Linked DNA regions of Homo sapiens: region 1 is linked to region 2. Evidence: promoter capture Hi-C in 16 types of primary human blood cells and fetal thymus (Javierre and others, 2016). All regions are on one chromosome and are shown on one strand. Each heading gives the region's core, a stretch centred on a gene start or on the middle of the fragment in contact. The rest is flanking DNA. Distances are from core to core; before and after follow the strand shown. Region 1 holds the start of JUN (Jun proto-oncogene, AP-1 transcription factor subunit). Region 2 holds the start of FAF1 (Fas associated factor 1).

Region 1 (5,693 bases), core at 1,758-4,257, 7.8 Mb after region 2:
GCTGTCCCTCTCCACTGCAACCCCCCTTCCTCCAGCCTCCTGAAACATCGCACTATCCTTTGGTAAGCAATTCCATATAGATAGCTGGGGGAGGAGGAGTATAACCTGACCATAGCATCAGGTACATCAGGTACATTTATTTCTAAAGTCTAATAGAGAACAGTTTTTACTGCTTAATAGTAAGAAGCACTGAGAGTGATTTTAATCGACATTCTTAACTCTTTCAACTCCACCTAGATAGCTAGTATCTACAGATGATGCAGAAAAGAGGTTAGGGGAGTACTTTCCAATAGTTTATTGTATTTTCTTAAATATCCTTTCTGGAATTTTCAGAAACAAAACATAAAAAAATTATATACTTTATTACAAATGGTAAACTCAGAGTGCTCCAAATCTCTTATTTACAAACAACACTGGGCAGGATACCCAAACAAACAAACAAGAAATAACTTACAAAGGCATGAAGCTGTTTATTGACAGTAATCAGCTTTCATCAAATTAAAAAATATATATATGTACATACACAGTTAACGAAGGCAGGCCAGAAAGAGTTCATCTGTAGGCTCAGCCTCGCTCTCACAAACCTCCCTCCTGCCGCCCCTCCCCAACCCTCCCCCCGCTTTGTGTTCTTAAGGAGTACTACAGAAGCAATCTACAGTCTCTATTGCAGTTTGTAACCCCCTCCCCCTCCCCCCTTTAATACTGAATGAGATCGAATGTTAGGTCCATGCAGTTCTTGGTCAATGTTAACGAAAAGTCCAACGTTCCGTTCGCGCGGGGACAGCCCGTCCGCAAAGCGGGGCAGCCCGCAGGCGGCCGCTCCCTGGCTCCACGCCAAGGGAGGGCGCGCCAAGTCCTTCCCACTCGTGCACACTGGGGGCGCCGTCAGGACGCAACCCAGTCCAACTTGGATACCCTTGGCTTTAGTTCTCGGACACTTCTTTTTTCTCTCCGTCGCAACTTGTCAAGTTCTCAAGTCTGTCTCTCTGTGTTATTTTTTTTCTTCGTTGCCCCTCAGCCCCCGACGGTCTCTCTTCAAAATGTTTGCAACTGCTGCGTTAGCATGAGTTGGCACCCACTGTTAACGTGGTTCATGACTTTCTGTTTAAGCTGTGCCACCTGTTCCCTGAGCATGTTGGCCGTGGACGCCAGCTCCGAGTTCTGAGCTTTCAAGGTTTTCACTTTTTCCTCCAGCCGGGCGATTCTCTCCAGCTTCCTTTTTCGGCACTTGGAGGCAGCGATGCGGTTCCTCATGCGCTTCCTCTCCGCCTTGATCCGCTCCTGGGACTCCATGTCGATGGGGGACAGGGGCGGTGTCTCGCCGGGCATCTCGGGCACTGTCTGAGGCTCCTCCTTCAGGGCCTGCAGCCGCGGGTGCTGCACGGGCATCTGCTGGGGCAGGTGGTGCGGCGGCTGCTGCTGCTGCTGGGGTTGCGCGGGAAAGGCCAGGCCGGCCGCGCCGTAGGAGGGCGCCCCGCCGCCGCTGCTCAGCGCGCCTGGGTTGAAGTTGCTGAGGTTTGCGTAGACCGGCGGCTCGCTGTGCAGGCTGGCGCTGAAGCCGCCGCTGCCGCTGCCCCCTGCCACCGAGGCTACCGCGGGAGCCACCATGCCTGCCCCGTTGACCGGCTGCGCCGCCGACGTGACGCTGGGCAGCGTGTTCTGGCTGTGCAGTTCGGCCAGGGCGCGCACGAAGCCCTCGGCGAAGCCCTCCTGCTCATCTGTCACGTTCTTGGGGCACAGGAACTGGGTGGGGGTCGGCGTGGTGGTGATGTGCCCGTTGCTGGACTGGATTATCAGGCGCTCCAGCTCGGGCGACGCCAGCTTGAGCAGCCCCACGTCGGGCGAGGTGAGGAGGTCCGAGTTCTTGGCGCGGAGGTGCGGCTTCAGGCTCCCCACTGGGTCGGCCAGGTTCAGGGTCATGCTCTGTTTCAGGATCTTGGGGTTACTGTAGCCATAAGGTCCGCTCTCGGACGGGAGGAACGAGGCGTTGAGGGCATCGTCATAGAAGGTCGTTTCCATCTTTGCAGTCATAGAACAGTCCGTCACTTCACGTGAGGTTAGTTTGGGCTGCGCGCACAAGTTTCGGGGCCGCAACAGGGCTGTGGCAAGCGGGGGACACCCGCGCCCCCCGGAGCCTTTGACAGGGAAAGTTTCTCTAAGAGCGCACGCACCCGCTGGCTGTCGTCCCCGCTGCGCCCTCCTCACCAGCTCGCTCCAGGGAGCGCAGGGTTAATTAAGATGCCTCCCGCACTCTTACTTGTCGACTCGCGCGCGCTACCCGGCTTTGAAAAGTCGCGGTCACTCACTGAGCGCTCTTCGTGCGCAGCGGTTCCTCGGAGTCCGCAGGCGAACTCACTTCCCAGAGCAGCGGCTCTCCCCGCGGAGCGGATCAGTGCGGACCCTGCAGTGGCCGGCCGGCGGCGGGTCTTGGCCGCCCGGACTCCGACGACTTGTCCCCTCCTCCGCTGCTAGGGGGAGGGGGCGCCCGGCAGCCGCGGCTCGCGCTCGCCCAAGTTCAACAACCGGTGCGAGCGAAGCTGAGCGCACGTCCTTCTTCTCTTGCGTGGCTCTCCGCCGCCTTCTGGTCTTTACCGCCGTGGAGAAGCCTAAGACGCAGGAAAGGCTTGCAAAAGTTGGCTCCGGGACTCTGCCACTTGTCTCCGGTCCTCCCAGCCGGGAAAGTTCTTTGCTGCTGCAGCCGCTCGCCGACTTCCCCCGGCGGGCGCGTGGGTACCGCTGCTTTCCGCCGCTGTCAACAGCGCCTGGGCAGCAGGGCTCTCCTCCCGGGGGCGGCTGGAGACCAGGCTCTCTGGACACTCCCGAAACACCAGCCCGGGAGCCACAGGCGCTAGCTCTGGGCAGTTAGAGAGAAGGTGAAAAGAAAATAAGATTTGCAGTTCGGACTATACTGCCGACCTGGCTGGCTGGCTGTGTCTGTCTGTCTGCCTGACTCCGCGCACCTCCACTCCCGCCTCGCTGCTTCAGCCACACTCAGTGCAACTCTGAGCCCTTATCCAGCCCGAGCTCAACACTTATCTGCTACCAGTCAACCCCTAAAAATAGCCCATGATGTCACCCCAAGGCCTTCCCATTGGCTCGCGTCGCTCTCAGGGGGGCGGGCCCGCCCGTCACCATGGAGACTCCACCCTAGAAGATTCTTCTCTGGGCCCGCGGAGGCTCACGGGATGAGGTAATGCTCCGCTGCCCTCCTACAGTCGGGCCCTTCTTTCTCCTACCCTCCCCCCTGCCGCACGCCTCTCGGCCCTCTCTTCCCCGGTCCCCTCCCCGGGCCGTTTTTCCCGGCCCGCCCGGTGCATTGTGGGCTGACGTCTTGGGGTTTGACTGTCTAGTGACGGTGGCTGCCGCGAGCGGGCGGACGCTCGCAACCTCTGATGGAGGGGGGCTCAAGTTCACGGCTGCGGACGGGGATGCGGGGGATGCAGGGACCCGGGAGGCCAGGGAACCTGGCCAGTTGTTTTGGGCCAGGGGTGCGGGCGAGGGGTGGTTGTTGTTTCCCCACTTGTGGGGCCCGAAGTCATCCACCGGCGGCCGCCACCGCGCGGGGCTGGAGGCTGAGAATCCAAGTACGCTGCCACCCCCCCGCACTTCCGGGGGGGCGGGAATACCGCCCTTAAGGTGGCTCTGTGAAGTCCCAGGTGGGGGCGAGCCTAAGGGGACTTAAGTTTAGGGGCGGTCTCCCGAGAGTCGGCCCCCCACGTTGAGAACACTCCGAAGTTTGCATCTCGGTCAAGTTCAGGAGCGACGGTCCGCGGGGTCGTCTGGCTGCTCGTAGAAGCCGAGAGATTTGTATTGCCCGAAACTGGACGCTCAGCTGAGTCTCCGTTGCACCCCACTTCATCCTCCGGGACCGTGGGGGAAAGGGCGCGGGGGTTCACAGCTTTGCCTCGGAGGGGCAGTTTTTATAGTGGGCGCAATTGGTGGGTAACAGGGTCCAGATGGGAACAAGCGTGTAGGCGATCCGAAACTCGGGGAACCCCGGTGTTAGTCTACTCCCCCTCCCGCCCCCGGACAACACGCACACGCTTAACACAACACGCACAACATAACGCGCGCGCGCGCGCACACACACACTCCATCCGCGCCGAGTTGCTTCCGGGAAAACAAGCCCAGAAGGCGGCGGACACTCGCATAAAGTCACGCAGTAGTACTCGGAGCCCGGGGTAGAACCTGGACTTCAAATCTCTGCACTCCCGGCCGGGTGGTGGGCGCATATCCTGGGTAGCCTCTAGGAAGCGCTAGACACATGTAAGTGGTTCCTTTTCCGCGGTTATTTTATTCTCCCCCCGCCCCCCACCCCTTAGGGACGAAAGTGTGTGGTGGAAAGAATCCCGAAGTCGGGAATCCTGGTTCTTTCGTGGCCAGGCTACCACAGTGTGAAGCAAGCAAATCACGGAACTCCTCCGAGCTTCATTTCCCTCATCTGCAGGTGGGGCCGGTGCCGTCCACCTCACTGGGCTGCCAGGAGTTAGTGTGACAGGGTCGCCTGCAGCACTAGGGAGGTGGTGGCCAAACAGCCCGCTTCCCTCCCCTGCCTCGCAGTTTCCATCCTCGCAGAGCCTGGATAGGATGCCAGGATATAAGAGTGCGATTTGGCAGGACCAGGTGTACTTTCCTGTGAGAAGCATCGAGGGGAGGAGGGGAGGGGGAACCGGGTTAGAAGTCAGATCTTTCCCAAGCCTCTGTCTAAAACTGGGGCTTGAAGTTGGACCTGCAGCAGTTTAAGTTCCTAGGTTCTAAATTCAGACTTCGCTGCTTCTGAACTTGGAATTCAGCCTTGGGTTCATTGCCCCCAGCCCTAAGGTATTTGCGGCTTTGAGTGTTCAGAAACCAACAGCAGCTGGTATCAGTGGGAAACCTGCCAACTTTTCTTCACTCCGGGCACTCACCTAGCTTTCACTGATCTGCAGAGGGTAACTGAAAGCCTACTGTGAGCCAGGCACTGAGCTGGGGAGGGGGTGGGGTAGGTAGGTATACAGTGATGACAAGATCCAGTTGCTTCCTCAAGGAGAGAACATTCTCCTCTGTCTGTTGCCCTGAATCATTTTCTGTTGTATTCAGGGAGTTGGTGTTCTAAATATTTTTTAATAACAGTAATAAAAATCAGTTTCATGTATTAAACACTTATTATCTGCCAGGCATTCTCCTAAGCAATTTAAATACGCTGTTTTCTCCCCACAACTGTCTTGAGAGACATATATTATTATCCAGATTTAACATGTGAGGAAATAGGCCCAGAGAGGTTAAGTATCTTTGTTGAGGTCACACAGGCAGCTGGAAATTGACCTCAGGTCTGTGTTACATTCCTTTGTATTTTCTCTACTCTGGCAAACTTTCTTGTGGAGTATTAGTTATCTGCAGAGGAAATAGCGCTTGTGGCATAGAAGAAATTTTCTTGCCTGATCCTCTGACTGTAACTCCGTTCAGAGCTCTTGTATTTAGAAATTTCAAGACTTAGGACTTTGCATAAATATATATCTTTTGCCTAAGGTTCTGTGTGTTCCTCTCTGCCTCATGTGGTTTAGTAGGCTGATCTTCTCCTTATGTTGAGAAATAGCATATTTCATCCAAAAAAATAACAAATCTGTTCATGTTAACGCCCCTGCTTGGAAGCCTTCATTGGCTTTTCCTTACAATCAGGAGAGTTCCGATTCCTATGCCTTGGAGAAGGGGCT
Region 2 (5,512 bases), core at 1,186-3,685:
ACAAAGTTATAATTACTTTATAAAGTTTTTAATGAGGGAAATCAGAAGACAATTTTGTAACACGGTAAAACTACACCTTGAAATATAGAGTCCTTTTTCAAACAGTGCATTCCACATTAGATAAAAAATGGAACTGGAGAACAAAAACAAAACAAAAAGACGATGATGAAAAACTTAGGCAGGGCTGGGTGTTGGAGCTTACACCTGTATTCCCAACACTTTCGGAGCCTGAGGTGGGTAGATCACTTGAGCCCAGGAGTTCAAGACCAGCCTGGGCAACATGGCAAGGCCCATCTCTAAAAAATTTAATTAATTAATTAATTGAAAAATTTTTTAAAATGTAGGCAGGCAAAAAGCCTCAGGCCAATCCTAAACCTACAAAACATCAAAATCTTATGGTCAACTTTTATTATAAGGACACTCCTTTATTAGTTTGGAGGTTATGGTTTAATCAAACTGTAGATATATGCATATTCCTAATACCTGTATATCAGATTTCACTGGGTAACCAAAACAGCAAACTCTGAAAATGGTTATCTGAACGTTAATTTGTAAAAATAAGGGCCGGGAGCAGTGTGGCTCACGCCTGTAATCCCAGCACTTTGGGAGGCCGAGGAGGGTGGATCACGAGGTCAGGAGATCAAGACCATCCTGACTAACACGGCGAAACCCTGTCTCTACTAAAAATACAAAAATATTAGCCAGGCGTGGTGGCCGGCGCCTGTAGTCCCAGCTACTCGGGAGGCTGAGGCAGGAGAATGGCGTGAACCTGGGAGGCGGAGCTTGCAATGAGCCGAGATCGCGCCACTGCACTCCAGCCTGGGCGACAGAGCGAGACTCCGTCTCAAAAAAAAAAAAAAATTAATTAATTTTAAAAAAAATAAGGAACTTAATAGAACAGAGAGAGAGAAAAGCCCAACAAAATTTCAGCAAGGAAAAATACTGCCTACTAAGCTAGTGTTAGAACCTGTGCAATGTGAGTATTAAAAAAGAGGGAAAAGTCTGCCTATACTTGACAGTAGCTTCTAAGTTGATGCCAAAATGGCCAAAAATATCTCACTAAAATAATTCCTTCACCAAACATCAAAAGGCAAAGGTAGCACTCACAGGATATTAGTTCTAGCTCCAAGTCTTTCACAATGCATACAGTTCTACTTTCAAAGGGCCTTCCTAAGATACTTACATGTCAGTGGCACTACGACTGGGTTTATTAAGAGAACAGCCTTTACTTATCCTTTAAAGTATTCCTGGAGAAAGGACACCAACCAAGCAATTCAAGTCTGTAGGGGAGGGGAATCCGCAAATATGAATAGGTAATTTATTAAGCTTGTGAATTCATTGCAGAGATACTCTGGAATATATAGTCTTATCTGTCTCCTTGTTATCTTCTTACCCTCCAAAGATTCCAATTAGGCAAAGTCTCAAATGTTTACTCCTCTTTGAAAAGGACCTCAGTACCCCATTGTCATTGCCCTCGCCATCTCATCATTCTGCTTTTTTACTCTTCCCTTAATACAATATAAATACACCACGCCCATAACACCACACGCTCCACGCTCACACTCCATACATCTCTCCCCACAGAACCACCCAAAACATCCCATACTTAATGGTCCAACACCAATTAAAACAAAAACTCTACACGTCCCCCCATATAATACAGGAAACACTACACATTCCACACACATTGTAACCCAAGTCATTAATACCTCCAATCCCATTCAACCCGTACTTAACACATTCTACACACTCATGATAGCATATAAATTATACGCTTCTCCATAGCTCGCCACACACACACACACACGCCACGCACCGTATAAAAGCCTAAATGACACACCACTGCAGCGTTCAAACGCTGGGAAGAAGACTCCCTTGTGGCACCGGAAACCCACGAGGTTGGAAGTGGGAGGGGAAGAGGGCCAGATACTTCACCTGAAAATCCGCCAGGATCATCTCCCGGTCCATGTTGGACGCCATGGCGGCCGCCGAGTTCCGCGGCTCCGGGAGCGAAGCGCGCACCTGGGAGGCAGACGGCACCTCCTGCGACCGTCGCCGCCACCGCCGCCGCCGCCGCCGGGCGCCGAGGGGCTGGCGGGCGAGCCGGCGGGCGGGTCGGCGGGCCAGCGGGCGGGGCAGCGCGGGAAGCGCTAGGCGCTCATGCACTCGGTAACCTTCAGGCGCCCCGGCCGCCCGCCTGCAACCTGCGGAGCCCGCGTCGCAGCAGCCCGGACAGGAAGATTGGTCTGGATGTGGGTCCGGTCTTACAGTCGCGGGCCAGGATGAGGGCAGGTTGCGACAGCGCGCACCCGGATACCTTCAGCGGCGTTAAGCCCGGCGGGGGCGGGGAAACCGAGCGAGCGAGCGGGCGGGCGAACGCCGCGGCCGCCTCCGCCTCCTCCGCTTCCTCCCTGGCCGCCGCCTCCGCCCCTGGTTGGCCAGCGCCACGGCTGTCGCACATTTTGCCTGTCATCGAGGTCGCAAAGCGCCGCTTTGCGGCTCCACGTGACCACCCTCCTGTCAAGCGCTGAGCGCGCGACTACCCGGCCAGGATCTCTGCGCTGGCGGCAGAGACTGCAACCTGCAGCTGCGGAAGCTTCAAGTCTCGCAACAGGTTATTCCAGTTTGGATTTAAGCAAAGGCCTCAGGATAGCGCCTCCCCCTAGCTGAGGCGGGGACCAGATTGTGCACCTCACGTGGTTAGTCACACAAATACACACCACCCTCACAAACCAACTAAACACACTGTTACAACTCGTCTAACAAACAGCATTTCAGAAATATATGTTTTTCTCTACAATGTTTCAGCAAAATACAGCTTCATATAGTCTCTCACGCTCAACCTGTCAAAACCGAATCCACACTGTCACACCCAGTCCCAAGCTCCCTGACGTCTGCATCCTCAGACTCCGTAACACAGAAGTAACCAGACTGCCATGGTAGACATGGGAGAGACGAGGAAGCTGAGAAAGGTAAAAATCTCGTTCCAGAGAAGAGGAGGAGCATTTTTTTTAATTGATAAGGTAGTTATGAGAAATAACAACCTCGAGTTAATAGGGTTGCTCCAAAGGGGGAAAAAAGGGAAAACCTTTCTACTGCTGCAGTTATATTTGTTTTTTTAAGCTGAGACATCTTACAAATGGGATAAAACTTGAATCCAGCTTTGAATATAGTCAGTCTATTTTTATTTATTTATTTATTTATTTATTTATTTATTATTTTGAGACGGAGTCTCGCACTGTGGCCCGGGCTGGAGTGCAGTGGCGCGATCTCGGCTCGCTGCGACCTCCGCTTTCTGGGTTCAAGCGATTCTCCTGCCTCAGCCTCCATAGTAGCTGGGATTACAGGCTCCCGCCACCAAGCCCGGCTAAGTTTTTTTTGTATTTTTAGTAGAGACGGGGTTTCACTATGTTGGGCAAGCTGATCTCGAACTCCTGTCCTCGTGATCCGCCCTCCTCGGCCTCCCAAAGTGTTGGGATTACAGGCGTGAGCCACTGCACCCGGCCTATTCATTTTCATAAGAAATTATTTTGGAATATTCACCAAATATTGAAAGTTTCAACCCATGGTCAGAAATTGACAACCTCTGTAACTAAAACAGCCAAAGACTATGTACAATGAAGTGTGACAGTTTGTAATTGTCGTCCAGGTTAGAGAAAGTGTGACAGTGGAAGTTGTTCATCCTTGACTTGGGAAAATATCAGCTTCTGGATTGTCATGGGGCATTTACTTGCTTTGGAAAGTATGTAAAAGCTTGAAAATGTGAAGTAAGATTGCTGATTTTATCCTGTAGAGCTAAAATAACTAGTGAAATCATCATGTAGCATGAAGGCCTAGGCTTCCCTTAAGAACTTTTTAAACTTGTATCATTTATTTACTTTTTTAGAGACAGGGCCTCACTATGTTGCCCAGGCTGGCTTCCAACTCCTGTGCTCAAGCCATCCTCCCACCTCAGCCTCCTGAGAGTGGGGATTACAGGTGTGAGCCATACCACCACACCCAGCAAGGCCTAGGCTCCATAAACTGGGAATATATTCATGAGAAATCAGAAATATGACCTAATTGTTCAGTTTCACTGAATATAAAGAAGTGCACTGTATTATGATCTGAGTTTATTCTGTGTGTTTCCTTAAATGAAAATAGGCTGGCCTACAGTTCTTAAGTACTAATCTGTGTTTAGACCAGAATTAGCTAGATAATAGAACCCTCCACAGTCACATGAATCAAAATGTCTTGCTTAATTTTCAGCCGTAAGAAAATAATTCCATGGCCAGGGCAGTGGCTTATGCCTATAATCCCAACACTTTGGGAGGCCGAGGCAGGCAGATCACTTGAGGTCAGGAGTTCAAGACCAGCCTGGCCAACATAGTGAAATCCCATCTCTGCTAAAAATAATACAAAAATTAGCTGGGCATGGTGGCATATGCCTGTAGTCCCAGCTACTAGGGAGGCTGAGGGAGGAGAATCACCTGAACCTGGGAGGTGGAGGTTGCAGTGTGAACCAAGATCACACTACTGCACCCCAGCCTGGGTGACAGAGTAAAACTGTTTCAAAATAAATAAATAAATATTTTTTTAAAAAGAAAGTAATTCCAAAAGTCAGCACAAATGTGAATCATGAGGCAAAACACAGCACCAATAATATAAATGTGGCAATTCAGTTGCCCCATTCATATAGGCCACCCTCAGTATAAGGCAGGTGAATAATTGTTTCTAGTTATATGGCCAAGGATTAATGCAGTCCTAAAAAGTTGAGAGTTTTTCTCTGTAATGATGCGTGTGTACCTCAGAACCCATTCAAATCCCATGTTGCTCCCTTTTTCTTTCCTTTCTCTCCATCTGGAAATTAAAACAATGTGGTATGTAGAACAATGGGATGAACACACTAGACATTCAGGCATATATTAGTACTGCTTTTCCAAATAATTAGCTGAGGGAACTTGGATGAGTCATTTAATCTCTCTGACTTCAGCTACTCACAGGACTATTTCCTCTGATAAATGAAAAAACAATTATGAAAATGCATGGAAAATATAAAATATTGGTATCACACTAACATAAATTTAATAGTCAATAATTGTGGTTTGAGTTCTAACTCTGCTCTTTAACAAAGGCTCTCTGGTTCTATTTCTTTATCTCTAAAATTGGGCTAAAAAGCTTGTGATTTTGAATGTTGAATGATCAAATGCTTGTGAAAATTCCTCATAAACCTTAAAACTCTCCAAACATATTAGTTATTACTCTGTATACCAATTCCTAAATGCTTTTCTCAGGACCACCCCTTTCATAAAATTTAAGCCAGTAAGGATCTTTCTCCTTTCTAATTACTGCTTTTACTATCTTTACAACACAACTTAGTGCTCCAGTAAATTTTGTAATTTTTTTCTCTAATTGTTTTCATATATGTATGTTTAATCTCCCCCCAAAGGTTGAAAGTTTCTTGAGATTATAAACCGCTTTATGCCATGTGTTTTTATATTCACCATAGTGCAAACATAGCAAAGTCTTGTGA

Evidence for each region. Contacts are between HindIII fragments. The CHiCAGO score rates a contact against its expected background, and 5 or more counts as called.
Region 1: a contact is called between the fragment with the promoter of JUN here and the fragment with the promoter of FAF1 in region 2, in 1 of 17 cell types (activated CD4 T cells). The highest score is 12.1, in activated CD4 T cells.

The regions. Positions count from the first base shown.
Region 1 is chr1:58,781,040-58,786,732 of GRCh38, forward strand. It overlaps JUN (Jun proto-oncogene, AP-1 transcription factor subunit), which reads right to left and starts at 3,008. Exons shown (of 1, transcript NM_002228.4): 1 at 1-3,008. The coding sequence starts at 2,031. The coding sequence ends at 1,036. JUN-DT (JUN divergent transcript) reads left to right here and starts at 4,112. Exons shown (of 2, transcript NR_108106.1): 1 at 4,112-4,266. RefSeq lists silencers at 805-980, 1,368-1,447 and enhancers at 1,118-1,297, 2,706-3,453, 2,968-3,227, 3,454-4,199. The HindIII fragment of the contact is 7,855 bases long and covers 1-5,693 here.
Region 2 is chr1:50,957,832-50,963,343 of GRCh38, forward strand. FAF1 (Fas associated factor 1) reads right to left here and starts at 2,436. Exons shown (of 19, transcript NM_007051.3): 1 at 1,936-2,436. The coding sequence starts at 1,980. It also overlaps a transcript of CDKN2C not described here. RefSeq lists an enhancer at 1,723-1,772 and silencers at 2,083-2,132, 2,243-2,402. The HindIII fragment of the contact is 1,270 bases long and covers 1,325-2,594 here.